4 separate regions of the Homo sapiens genome follow, and regions 1, 2 and 3 are each linked to region 4. The links are contacts of gene promoters, found by promoter capture Hi-C in blood cells and fetal thymus (Javierre and others, 2016). All regions are on one chromosome and are shown on one strand. The core of a region is centred on a gene start or on the middle of the fragment in contact, and the rest is flanking DNA. Distances in the headings are between cores, read along the strand shown. Region 1 overlaps AFG1L (AFG1 like ATPase). Region 2 has its middle 20 kb from the start of FOXO3. Region 3 holds the start of FOXO3 (forkhead box O3). Region 4 holds the start of ARMC2-AS1 (ARMC2 antisense RNA 1).

Evidence for each region. Contacts are between HindIII fragments. The CHiCAGO score rates a contact against its expected background, and 5 or more counts as called.
Region 1: a fragment that was not itself captured here is called in contact with the fragment with the promoter of ARMC2-AS1 in region 4 in 1 of 17 cell types (M1 macrophages); the score reaches 5.2 in M1 macrophages.
Region 2: a fragment that was not itself captured here is called in contact with the fragment with the promoter of ARMC2-AS1 in region 4 in 6 of 17 cell types (activated CD4 T cells, total CD8 T cells, monocytes and 3 more); the score reaches 6.7 in activated CD4 T cells.
Region 3: the fragment with the promoter of FOXO3 here is called in contact with the fragment with the promoter of ARMC2-AS1 in region 4 in 17 of 17 cell types (activated CD4 T cells, naive CD8 T cells, non-activated CD4 T cells and 14 more); the score reaches 28.1 in activated CD4 T cells.

Annotation. Positions count from the first base shown.
Region 1 is chr6:108,519,954-108,523,316 of GRCh38, forward strand. It overlaps AFG1L (AFG1 like ATPase), which reads left to right. Exons shown (of 13, transcript NM_145315.5): 13 at 2,344-3,363. The coding sequence ends at 2,472. Among named protein-coding and RNA genes, the nearest start is that of FOXO3, 39 kb to the right of the region's middle. The HindIII fragment of the contact is 3,033 bases long and covers 1-2,812 here.
Region 2 is chr6:108,539,713-108,542,647 of GRCh38, forward strand. No RefSeq gene overlaps it. Among named protein-coding and RNA genes, the nearest start is that of FOXO3, 20 kb to the right of the region's middle. The HindIII fragment of the contact is 6,005 bases long and covers 1-2,935 here.
Region 3 is chr6:108,559,294-108,562,411 of GRCh38, forward strand. It overlaps FOXO3 (forkhead box O3), which reads left to right and starts at 1,624. Exons shown (of 3, transcript NM_001455.4): 1 at 1,624-2,536. The coding sequence starts at 1,916. RefSeq lists silencers at 1-348, 389-458, 1,438-1,657 and an enhancer at 2,101-2,601. The HindIII fragment of the contact is 5,662 bases long and covers 1-2,745 here.
Region 4 is chr6:108,922,853-108,925,856 of GRCh38, forward strand. It overlaps ARMC2-AS1 (ARMC2 antisense RNA 1), which reads right to left and starts at 1,251. Exons shown (of 3, transcript NR_104137.1): 1 at 1,209-1,251; 2 at 123-192. All of the region lies in intron 10 of ARMC2 (armadillo repeat containing 2), which reads left to right. The HindIII fragment of the contact is 2,206 bases long and covers 491-2,696 here.

The sequences.
Region 1 (3,363 bases), core at 46-2,545, 400 kb before region 4:
TATCATTCTCAATATCACTGAATATAGAAAATTATAAACTTACAGTGGAAGGAACCTTAGTGGTCATGTAGTTCAGTGCTCCATTTTGCATGTGATAAAAATGAAGCCCACGGAGGTGGACTAAGGTGCCCACAGTCACACTGCTGAATAATGGCAGGCCAGAGCTGGATGCCAAACCACCTGTGCCCGGTTCTGGGCTTGCTCTGCTATACCATGCTGCCCTTTCTGGGTATCTTTCTAAATGATTGCTGGATTTGTAGAGTGCATGATACAGTATCCAAGCATGTAGGCTGGCTAGTCCAGGACCATGGAGTGCCTAGCAAGGCCCCAGGCTTGAAAAGAAATCCCTAACTAATCTCTCAACCTCCATTCTGCAAACATTTATGGAGTACCTGTGGGTGCCAGGCTCTGAGGACACTCTGTAGGGAACAAACAGATGCTAGTCCAGTTCTCCTGGAGCTTGGAGTCTGGTGATTCACCCCAGGCCAACTAGAAGTGACTTTGCGTTTTCTTCTTCTATAAGAACGTTATGAGATGTGTTTCTCAACTATCGACAACTGAAATATTAGTCAAAAGTTTACAACTATCAACACTCACCCCATGAGGGGAGCCCAATTCTTCCAGCCCCACAGGTGAAAGACCTCTGGAACAAGGAAACAATTCCTTATCAACCTGAATAGAAATGAGGCATTTTCAGGAGTTTGGGAGAACGAGGCCAATTTAAAAAGTGAACTTTCCAATATGATGACTTAAACCTATGTGTATGTCTTAGTCTGCTATAACAAAACACCATGAACTGGGTAGCTTACAGACAACAGAAATTTATTTCTAACAGTTCTGGAGGCTGGGAAGTCCAAGATCAGGGTGCCAGATTTGGCATCTGATGAAGGCCCACTTCCTAGTTCCTAAGCCTCTGTCTTTTCTGTATAAACCTCACATGGTGGAAGGGGTGAGGGATCTCTCTGGGGCATGTTTTATAAAGGCATTAATCCCATTCATGAGGGCTCCACCCACAAGACCTAATCATCTCCCAAAAGCTCCGCCTCCAATACCATCACCTTATGGGTTAGGATTTCAGCATATGAATTTTGGATGTACATAAACATTCAGCTCTAACCTAGAACAGTTTCATCCTGAAACCATCCCCCTGCCCCTGGTCCATGGAAAAATTGTCTTCCACGAAACTGGCCCCTGGTGCCAAAAGGTTGGTAAAGTTTACATCATTGGCTCTTAAAACTTTTTTCCCCTAGGCTGGTGCAATGGGTCATTCCTACAATCCTAGCACTTTGGGAGGCCGAGGTGGGCAGACTGCTTTGAGCTCAGGAGTTCAAGACCAGCCTGGGCAACATGGTGAAACACCCATTTCTACAAAAAATAAAAAATAAAATAAAAAAAATTAGCTGGGTGTGGTGGCACACACCTGTAATCCTAGCTACTGGGGAGGCTGAGGCAGGAAGATCACTTGAACCCAAAAGGCAGAGGTTGCAGTGAGGCAAGATGGCACCACTGCACTCCAGCCTGGGTGACAGAGTGAGACCCTATCTCAAATTCCCCTAGGATCAAGAAAAAATAAGCTCAGCAGACAGAGCCAATCATGCATGAAGAAATCAGGGAATGTGATCTCAGGGTCATGAAGGTTCACAATGGATCAGTGGAGAAGATGGACTTAGGAATCTAGAATTTTTCTCTGAAAAAGCATACTAGCAAACCCCTAAGGAAAGAGAAAAATTCCAAGCCCACTTAGTGGCCATGAGTCTGTGTTGGTATCACCAGTCTGGGGTTACCAGCCTCACAGAGACAGAGTTTCCCAATTTGGTCCTAGATGGTGGGATCAGTTGTCCCAGCAGCTGAAGACTAAAAACAGCCCTGCCTTTCAGCCCTGGCTTTTAGATCCCAGGCACATTCTCCAGAACCCAGACCCACTGCTCATTTGCATTTGCTCTCCTTTAGTCATTGGTTGGATTGGAAAACGCTCTCCAGAGGTTTGTCCTTAGGGCCTCCCCCTTAGGCACTGGGACCCTGTCTGGAGGCCTACACCAGCCTCTTTCTAGCTTCTCAGAACTACTGGTTTTTTTTTTGCCATTACTTATTTCTGGTGTACACTTTTGGAGAAAGTTTTCCCTTTTAAGTTTTCTCTCTGATAATTTGATGTGTTTACTGCCTATCAGTTTAAATTGGTTGACTCTCTAGTCTCATTTAAGAGATTGTATATGGAAAAAAAAAGTTATAAAAAAAGGCATAATCTAAACCGGTAAGCCTAAAAAGTTTTTTTAAACCTATACTTAGGTTCTGTAAATTTTCATTTGTGATAGCTTTATTTTAATTTCTTTGTTTTATAACCAGGATTCAGCAGAAGGACTCTCCATGTTTACCGGAGAAGAGGAAATCTTTGCATTTCAGCGCACAATTTCCCGACTCACGGAAATGCAGACTGAACAGTACTGGAATGAAGGAGACAGAACCAAGAAGTAACTGCCACTTTTGCATAAATAAAACTCTAGACAAATGGTTAACGCAGGCAGAACTCCTTATTGTGGGACTTGAAGGAATCATTTTCTCATCATTAATTATGCACTTTGTCCTCTGGACCATTTTAATCTAAAATTGCTCTCAAGGATCTAGTGGATTAGTAAGTTAAACACTTAACATTTTTTAGGTCTGCTTTTTCTTATTTGGCCTTATTTCTGCACCATGAAATTAAAATCATCTCATTCCTGAAGATGAATGTAGGACCAGACATTTTAGCTTCACATTAAACCACCTGAATGAACCTTGAATGCACAAGTAAATGCAAGACGTCTGGATACCTTCAAGCTTTGGCTGCATGGTGGTGGCATGTTAGAAATACATCTTTTATAATGGGGGAAGAATGCCCTATGTTTCAATTCAAAACAAAGACAGTTTTCCAATCTGATATAAACTAAAAGGGATAATATTTTAGAATATGGGCTTATATGTGGTTTTTTTTTTTGGTTATGAATTACAGTAAATCTCCCAGGCCTTCAGATTTCTACATAATGGAAGAATATGTTTTTAACCCTGAGATCAAGTTTAGTAGGCAGGACTTGATCTCAAGTGGTCACAAAGTTTTCTAAAAAAAAATAGAAAATTATGATGGGATCAAATAAGGAGCAAGTGTCAAATTCCAGCCAACAGGCAGATCTGCAGGCAGAGCTACAAACTCTGCAGCCAGGAATGGGGACCAGTGAGAGAGTGTGGGCGGGGGGGTGGGTGTCAGAGTCGTAGGCACTCCAACAGCAGAGGAGACTCCCGCTCACATGAGGCCAGCCGTACCCCAGTGGACAGCAGGCTCCTTCTCACTGTTGTAGACACTTGCTCTCCTTGCAGCATGCTGCCCCCGCC
Region 2 (2,935 bases), core at 293-2,792, 380 kb before region 4:
TGTTCAAAAAAGAAGTAACACCAAGTTCTACTCAATGTCTTTCAGAAAATCTCAGTCTCTTCCAGAGGTAACACTTCTCAATTCATTTTATGAAGCTAGAATTACTATGATACACAAACCAAAGACAGTATGAAAAAATAAAGCCAAAGATCAATATCCCTCATTAGTGTAGATACAAAAATCCTCAGCAAAATATTAGCAAATATAATTTAGCAATATATAAAAATAATTATACACCATCATCAAGAACAGTGTATTTCAGGATGCAGGGCTGGTCCAATCTAAGACCCAGATGAAGGCAAGGATGTCTATTCTCTTAACTGTTATTCAGTATAGTAGAGTTGAGGTCCTAGCTTGTGCAATAAGGCAAGAAAACACAAACAGATCAGAAAGAAAGAACAAAAATAAAAAACCTATCCCTATTTGCAAGTGCTATTATTGTCTATGTAGGAAATTGAAAAAAGTCTACAAAAAGTTTCTAAAACTAATAAATTCAGCAAAGTCATAGGATACAAGATAGACATACAAAAGTTAAGTGTCTTTCTATATATTGACAATGAATACATGGATACTCAACTTAAAAATATGATACCATTTACAATTGCCAAAAATAGAAAAAGAAAAAGTACTTTGGTCCAAATCTAACAAAACATGTACATGATTCGTATGCTGAAAACTATAAAATACTAATCATAAAAGATCTAAATGAATGGAAAGACATACTTATATTTATAGATTAGAAGACTTGGCTGGGCATCTGTAATCCTGTAATCTCAGTACTATGGGGAGCTGAGGCAGGAGGATCACTTGAGCCCAGGAGTTCAAGACCAGCCTGCACAACATACAGAGACCTCCATTTCTACAAAAAAAAATATATTTTTTAAATTAGCTGGGCATGGTGGCATGTGCCTGTATTCCCAGCTGCTCTGGAGGCTGAGGTAGGAGGATTCCTCGAGCCTGGGAGGTCAAGGCTGCAGTGAGCTGTTATTGTGCCACTGCACTCCAGCCTGGGCAACAGAACAAGTCCTTGCCTCAAAAAATAAAATAAAATAATTTAAAAAATAGAATAGAAGACTCAATATAGCAGAGATGACAATTCCAAAATTGATATATAAAATTAATGCAATTCCTATCAAAATCCCAGCAAGATTGTTTATATATCTGGACAAGATTATTATAAAATTTACATAGTTGGGAGGCCAAGGTGGGAGGATCATTTGAAGCCAGGAGTTTGAGACTAGCTTGGACAACTTAGTAAGACCCCCATCTCTACAAAATTTTTTTTTAAAATTAGTCTACCATATTGGCACATGCCTGCAGTCCCAGCTCCTCGGGAGGCTGAGGGAGGAGGATCACTTGAGCCTGGGTGTTTGAGGCTGCGCTGAGCTATAATCATGAAGCTGTACTTCAGCCTGAGTAACAGAGCAAGATGCCATCTTAAAAGAAAAATAAAAATTATATAGAAAAGCAAACAAAAAGCTAAAAAAGGTAAAACTATTGAAAAATAAAAATAAAGTGAGAGTAATCACTCTACCCAATTTTAAGACTTATAACTATAGTAATCAAGACTGTGTGGTTTTGGTGAAGGGATGGTCACAGAGATTAATGGAGCAGAATAGAGAACTGGAAAATAGACCTACACAGATATGTCCAACTGATTTTTAGAAAGTTGTAAAAGCAGTTCAATAGGAGAAGGATAGGCTTTTCAACAAGTGGTGCTGGGACAACTGGATAAACATAGCTATCAACAAAAAGTAAACAAATCTCTACCTGGAACTCATATCTCATACAGAATTTAACTTAAAAATCAATCACATACTTAAATGTAAAGTGTAATTGTTGAGGAAAAAATAGAAGAATATATTCAGGATCTATGACTAGGCAAAGAGTTCTTAGACTTGACATTTAAAACACAACCCATACAAGGAAAAACTGATTAATTGGACTTTATCAAAATGAAAAAGTGCCCTGTGAAAGACTGCTGTGTGTTGAAACAGTACCTTGCTTTTCACGATAATAAAATACCGTCTAAAATGAATGTTGATAAACTACTCTAGAGCAGTGGATCTTTTAAGTGCCCACTTTGCAGACCAACCCTTAGCGCAGTGTCCAACAGCCAGTATAGGCACTCCACAAAATGTCAATGCAACTGAATGGCTTGTCTCCACCACACGCTGACGGTTCTCTGTAGCTGAATGGAGGGTGAGGGGACCTAAGGAAGAACATACAATGAAAGCCACAGGTACATGCCTTTTACATTTTCTCTCCTCCTTTTCCTCCTCTTTCTCCTCCCTCTCCCTCCTTCTCTCTTTTCCCTTTCCTCTCTCCCCTCTCCCTTTATCTTCACCTTTCTCCCTTTCCTCCTTCCCTCATCAAACCTCAGAAGATCACGGAGCATGGGAGTTTGAAGTAAGGAGTACAGGAAATGAAGATTGAAATTTGCATGTATGCTCAGCTCACAGCCACCAGATGGCGGGAGGAGATCAGGAAATTCAGGCAAAGCCCTTCTGCTCCAACTTAAAGAAACCACAACCAGCCAGCACCTGGCCAGCTTGCTTTTCTGGGTAAGTGACTATGTACAGAAATACTTTTTGTTTTCCATAACTCTCTGTAAAGCAATACCAGGTGCTGGCCAAAGCAAGTAGATGCTGTGTAATTTGATAGTGAATGTACCCATAGGAAGGGACAGTGTGTTTCTGCTTCTCCTTCCCTCTGCCTTTTCTTTCTGCATCTGCAAAATAGGGGTTCTGGTTGTGACCTGCCTCACTGTGATAAGTCCGCTGAGAGATAAAATGAGCAAAGTGCCCTGTGTGCCACAGATGACAGATGTTTTTCTAGGAAGAATGGCATCAGTGCACCATGTGTGTCTGACCACCACCACCCACAAGGAACACATGAAGTGCCCTGGTACTGTGGTAGCTGTGAACCTTGGGGT
Region 3 (3,118 bases), core at 374-2,873, 360 kb before region 4:
GGGAACCGGACACCGGGGCTGGCCCAGAGCCCGGCGGGCGGACGCGCAGGCCAGGGACCCCCTGGTACCAGGCGCCCTGCCCGGAGTCAGGGAGGCCACGCCGCTGCGCTCCTTGGAGCGTCGGGGGCTGTGCGCTCCTGCCGCTCCCCCTTCTCCCTCCTCTCCCCACTTCTTCCTCCTCTCCTCCCTTCTCCCCCCTTCTCCCTCCTCTCCCGGGCCAGCGCCGCGCTTTGTTGTCGTTGAGACTCTCGGGAGGGAGGAGGAGCCCAGCGGGGACAGCAGCGGGAGCCCGCCGAGTCCCGGCCCACGGCGCGCGCCCGGACACCCACGCCCGCAGCCCCGCGGAGCCGGGCCGCGCAGGCGCGCGCGAGCTCACACACGCGCACTCACACACGCACGCCCGCCGCGCGCCCGGCCCGCCGCCCAGCCCGCCGCCCAGCCCTCCCCCTGGGCGGGGACCCGCCCGCCGTCAGCCTAGGTTGAGGCGCCCTGCGTGTGTCTATAACTTTGTGCTGCTGCCGCGGCCGCCCTGCTCGTGGAAGGGAGGAGGAGGAATGTGGAAGGTGGCGGCGCGCGAGCTGACAGGCGGTTCCTCGGGCGGGCTGCGGCGACGGCCCGAGCGCTTCTCCTTCGCCGAGGTTGCGCGCCCCCTCCTCGCCGTGCCCCGGGCCCGCGCGGGATCGTGCGTCGTCCCGCCGCGTCCCTGAAGGGAAGGAAGCGAGGTAGGCGCCGGAGCCGTGCAGCGGGCGGCCGCCTTCCCGGTGACTCCGGATCTGCTTCCGAGCTGGGCCGGGCGCTTCCCTTTCCCCTCCCTGAGCCGCGGTGTGCGCGCCCCCCTTCTCGCCCGCTAGTGTTTTTAAAGGACTCGGGAAGGGGGAAACTGTCAAGATGGCAGCAGCGGGAGCAAGGAGGTGATGAACGTGCTGGTCCGGGTTTTCTAGCAGCCCGGGAGACTTGGCGCTTCCCGACCTGTTGGAAGATTTATGTTCCGACTCGCTCCCTCCCCCGGATCCCGACTGGGAAGGGGGCGGAGGGGACGACGTCCGCGAGAATGCAAACCACACAAAACCCCGAAGTGGCCGTCCCCGCCGGGCTCGAACCTCTGCGAACACCCGCTGGGCTGCTGCTCCCCCTTCTTTCTGTCTTTCCTTTATTTTTTGGAAGTGACAAGGGCCCATCTGCGCCCAGACCCCCGTTCGCCCTCTGGCCCGCGGGCGAAGAGGGGAGAGGGAGCTGCCCGCGCAGTCCCCGGGCTCGGGCCATTCGACCGGGTGGGGGGTGACGGGGGGTCGCGGAGGCGGCCAGGCTAGGAAAGGGGAGAAGAGCCGAAGACAGCACAGACTTGAGCGGCGGCGCCGCGGGAGGCACTAGAGCGGGCCCGAGCGAAACATAAACAAACGCACGCACACCCGAGCTCGGGCTCTGACCGCGGCTCGGCTGCGCCAGCTCCGGCCGCTGCCCGCTTTAAAGGCGCGGCCGCCCCTCCCCCGGGCGCCCCTCCCCCTTCTCCCCGCCCCGCCGCCTAGCCCGGGAGGGACCTGCGGCTGGGCGGCGGGGGGAGGGGGCTGCCCCGCGCGAGGCCGTCGATTCGCTCGCGGCTCCATCGCGGCCTGGCCGGGGGGCGGTGTCTGCTGCGCCAGGTTCGCTGGCCGCACGTCTTCAGGTCCTCCTGTTCCTGGGAGGCGGGCGCGGCAGGACTGGGAGGTGGCGGCAGCGGGCGAGGACTCGCCGAGGACGGGGCTCCGGCCCGGGATAACCAACTCTCCTTCTCTCTTCTTTGGTGCTTCCCCAGGCGGCGGCGGCGGCGCCCGGGAGCCGGAGCCTTCGCGGCGTCCACGTCCCTCCCCCGCTGCACCCCGCCCCGGCGCGAGAGGAGAGCGCGAGAGCCCCAGCCGCGGGCGGGCGGGCGGCGAAGATGGCAGAGGCACCGGCTTCCCCGGCCCCGCTCTCTCCGCTCGAAGTGGAGCTGGACCCGGAGTTCGAGCCCCAGAGCCGTCCGCGATCCTGTACGTGGCCCCTGCAAAGGCCGGAGCTCCAAGCGAGCCCTGCCAAGCCCTCGGGGGAGACGGCCGCCGACTCCATGATCCCCGAGGAGGAGGACGATGAAGACGACGAGGACGGCGGGGGACGGGCCGGCTCGGCCATGGCGATCGGCGGCGGCGGCGGGAGCGGCACGCTGGGCTCCGGGCTGCTCCTTGAGGACTCGGCCCGGGTGCTGGCACCCGGAGGGCAAGACCCCGGGTCTGGGCCAGCCACCGCGGCGGGCGGGCTGAGCGGGGGTACACAGGCGCTGCTGCAGCCTCAGCAACCGCTGCCACCGCCGCAGCCGGGGGCGGCTGGGGGCTCCGGGCAGCCGAGGAAATGTTCGTCGCGGCGGAACGCCTGGGGAAACCTGTCCTACGCGGACCTGATCACCCGCGCCATCGAGAGCTCCCCGGACAAACGGCTCACTCTGTCCCAGATCTACGAGTGGATGGTGCGTTGCGTGCCCTACTTCAAGGATAAGGGCGACAGCAACAGCTCTGCCGGCTGGAAGGTGCGTACCCACCCCGGGCTGGCAGCAGGACCCGCCGGGCCTCCTGCGCAGCGCGAGACGCGTCTCGGATTCGTCGGAGTGCGCTTGCGGGCTCCAGGGCAAGGGGTTGGCAGGGGGAGCCTCCGCTGCGAGGCTTTGGGGGTTATCTTTGATCCCCGGAGTCGGGGCACCTGGGGACGGTCTCGGAGGGGTGAATGAGGCTCCCCAGAAGCTTGGGGCATGGCCAGGTGAGGAGAGGGGGCAGGGGACGCCGGCGAGGGAAGGGCGAACGGACAGGAGTACATTTGCTGGATTCTCCGGACAGCACCGAGGAGGTAGGTCCGCAGCCAACTTTGGAGTAGAGTTTACCGTAGTGGGGGTCTGGTGCGGGCGCTGTGGCTGGAGTGAGAGGTGTGGGGGTGTTTGGGACGCAGTGTCTGGAGGAGGGGTTGGATGTGTGGTTTCCAGTCTGTCGCAGGAGCATGTTGCGTCGTCACTAGCTGAATGAGAACCTTCGGGTCCAAGTTTCAGCTTGTGGGTGTTAACACCTACAGGCACATCGATCCGATTAGAAAAAGCAGTGGTTGCAAACCTTTTCCTGGA
Region 4 (3,004 bases), core at 1-2,500:
TCAGTAGTAGATTGGTAACCAGAAGCAAAATGGAATGTTTCTTCCTGGGTATTTACCAAAACCTTAGGTCCCCTTTTGTCCTAAACATCACCTAACAATTGCTAATAAGCAAGGAAACTTACATTTGTATTAGTCCTCTTTGTGGATTATCAGTGTCATTTTCTTCTCTTTTTTCTTCTTCCTATGGGCTGCCTTCAGGATTGCAAGTCCCACAGGATTGCAAGTTAAGAGATGGGGGAAAAGATAGGAATTAAAACTTGTGTTTTTCAGTGTGCTATTTCTTGGTGAAATGCTACTTAAGAGGTTGAGAATTTCTCTACTAAGTCCTTTAGAGACTAAACAAGACTTTTTTTAAGTAAGGGATTTGAGGTGGTTTGAAAGATTATATACAATAAAAAAGAAAAATGTGTGTTTAAGTTTGTGCATTTATAGATAATATAAATTAGAATAGAAAGTTAAGAAAGAAATGGATGCACACCTCCAAGCATGAAGCTTGGGCTTTGGTTAACTCCTGCTTTGGGGGAGGGCCCAGTGGGTGGGCTTTTCTTGAGGGTGGGAAATAAAGACCCTGCTGTAGAGCACAGAACTCATTGATAATTTTCACAGATTTATCTCTGTTCAACTGAGAGTTCTTGTTTTCTTTTTTTTAATTTTCACTTGTATATAATGAATTCAAAAGTAGGAGCAAAATTCAGTTAAATGGGTTGACTTGGAACTTGCCTTTACTGTGACCACATGATTTAGCTAGACTCTCCTCCCCACACCCTTTTTTTTTTTTTTTTCCTGCATTTTTTCCAGAAAAGGCCACTGGTCTGAGCATTCAGGGCCCCACCATCATCCCACAGTGAGATTGGTGGCTCTCAGAGGTTGGTGACAAGTCTCTCAAGATACAGGGCCTTCAGAGCTGCATCTGCGTGGTGGCCTTTTCCTGATCCTTCTCCCTCAGGGTTTTAGGCCCTGGTTCACCCAGGCCTCTGCTAAGCTCCCGCACTTTCTTGCCAGAGGTGTCTTAAAGGGAAAAACCTCTCTTTTGTCGCTCCTGTCCCTTCTTTCTTTCTTCCCCCTCCTCATTCCCCTCCTCCTTCCCCTTCTCATTCACTCTTCCAGCCCTCCAGTAGCTGAACATTTAAGAGCTTTTTATGAGCACATTTGTTGTCCTCTGAATAGAAAGAGGAATAAGAAGTGGTTTGTACCCTAGAGGAGCTCACCATGGGAGAGAAGATGCCTGAAGACAAGTGACAATGCTTCTGTGATGGGGGTTGTAGAGGCAGGAACAGGATGCTTTGGTAACACGGAAGAGGAAGGAGAGGAAGTGACTGATCAGCCTCGGAAAGGACTTCACAGAGAAGTTATCTTGAGCTGGGTTTTGAAAAATGAGCAGGAGGCCGGGCGCGGTGGATCATGTCTGTGATCCCAGCACTTTGGGAGGCCGAGGCGGGCGGATCACTTGAGGTCAGGAGTTCAAGACCAGCCTGGCCAACATGGCAAAACCCTGTCTCTACTAAAAATACAAAAATTAGCAGGGTGTGGTGGTGCTTGCCTGTAATCCCAGCTACTCGGGAGGCTGAGGCAGGAGAATCGCTTGAACCCAGGAGGCGGAGGTTGCAGTGAGCCGAGATCGAGACTCTGTCTCGAAAAAGAAAAAAGAAAAAAATGAGCAGGAGATGGCCCGGGGGAGAAGGGGTGGCAAAGTGTAATCGAGGGCACTCTGGGCGGAGGAAGCCGCCTATTCAAAGGCATGGCGTCATGAAGGGTTGAGGACCTCATGTGGTGCAGAGTCTGAAAGATGGCCAGGGTGGTGCCGAGGCAAAGGAGATGAGTTTGGAGGGATAAACCACACTTCAGAGACTGAGGAACCTTTAGGCTATGGGTGCTACTGGCTGGGCCGGAAGTCGCAGGAGGCCTTTGAGCAGGGAAGGCGGAGCTTTGAGATGCCCCCTCTGGCAGCAGTGAGCAGCTATGGGGGCAAACTGTGGAAGGAGCCCATCCAGGGGGCTGTAGAGTTTGGGTAAGAGATGAAGTGAGCTTAAACTGAACCAGTGACGCTGGTGATGGAGAGAAGGGGTGAACGTGTGACCAGTCAGGTGGGGAAAGGGGTGGGGCCCGGGAGTTTAGGAGCTTGGGAAGGAGCTGCTGTCAGAAATGAGATAGGCTAGAGAACAAATACACAGAGGCTGGTCCCCTTCCAGAGAGTTCATTTTTCTTTCATCCGTTATTTTTTATTCTGTGATGGATGGGGGTTATAGAGGCAGGAACAGGATGCTTTGTTAACACGGAAGAGGAAGCGACTGATCGGCCTCTGAAAGGTCTTAAACATAGACAAGTTAGCCTGAGCTGGGTAACTACAGAGTCCATTTTTCTTTCATCCATTATTTTTTACTCCTCTGCTTTCAAAAAAAATCTTAAAATCTGTCTACCTCAGAGATATTGTCTGCTTAGCCCATGGTGTTCTGATATCCCAGTCTTTCCTTTGTAGATGTCCACCCCTTCATTCATTCCATTAATAAATGCCTATTGAGCGCCCACCATGTACCAGGCACTGGACTTGGAGCTGGATGTACAATGGTGAAAAGGATGAACAAGGTTTATGCCTTCACTGAAGCGTCTAGTCTGGAGGAGTAGACAGATAGTAAACCATAATATTAAATAACCTAGCATTAAGTAGAGTTTATGGGGGCATATATGGTATGAGATGAAGCTTGACGGGTTGAGAAGGAACAGATCTGTTGAGCCTTGTAGACCATGGTCAGGGAACTGAATATTATCCTGGGAGCTATGGACAAAAAGCCAATATGGCTTGGAGTAACAGAAAGCAGAAAGGCAGGATTCTGGGATATCTCTGCTTGAGCAACTAGGTTGATGGTGTCATCTATTGAGCTATTGCTGTGTATTTTTCAAATGTATGGTATATGTTTCATGCATGTTATTTCTACCAGCACCACAAATGACAAATTTGGAAATACGTGAGGTATTGTATATTACTCAACTGTGTGTATCACGTGCA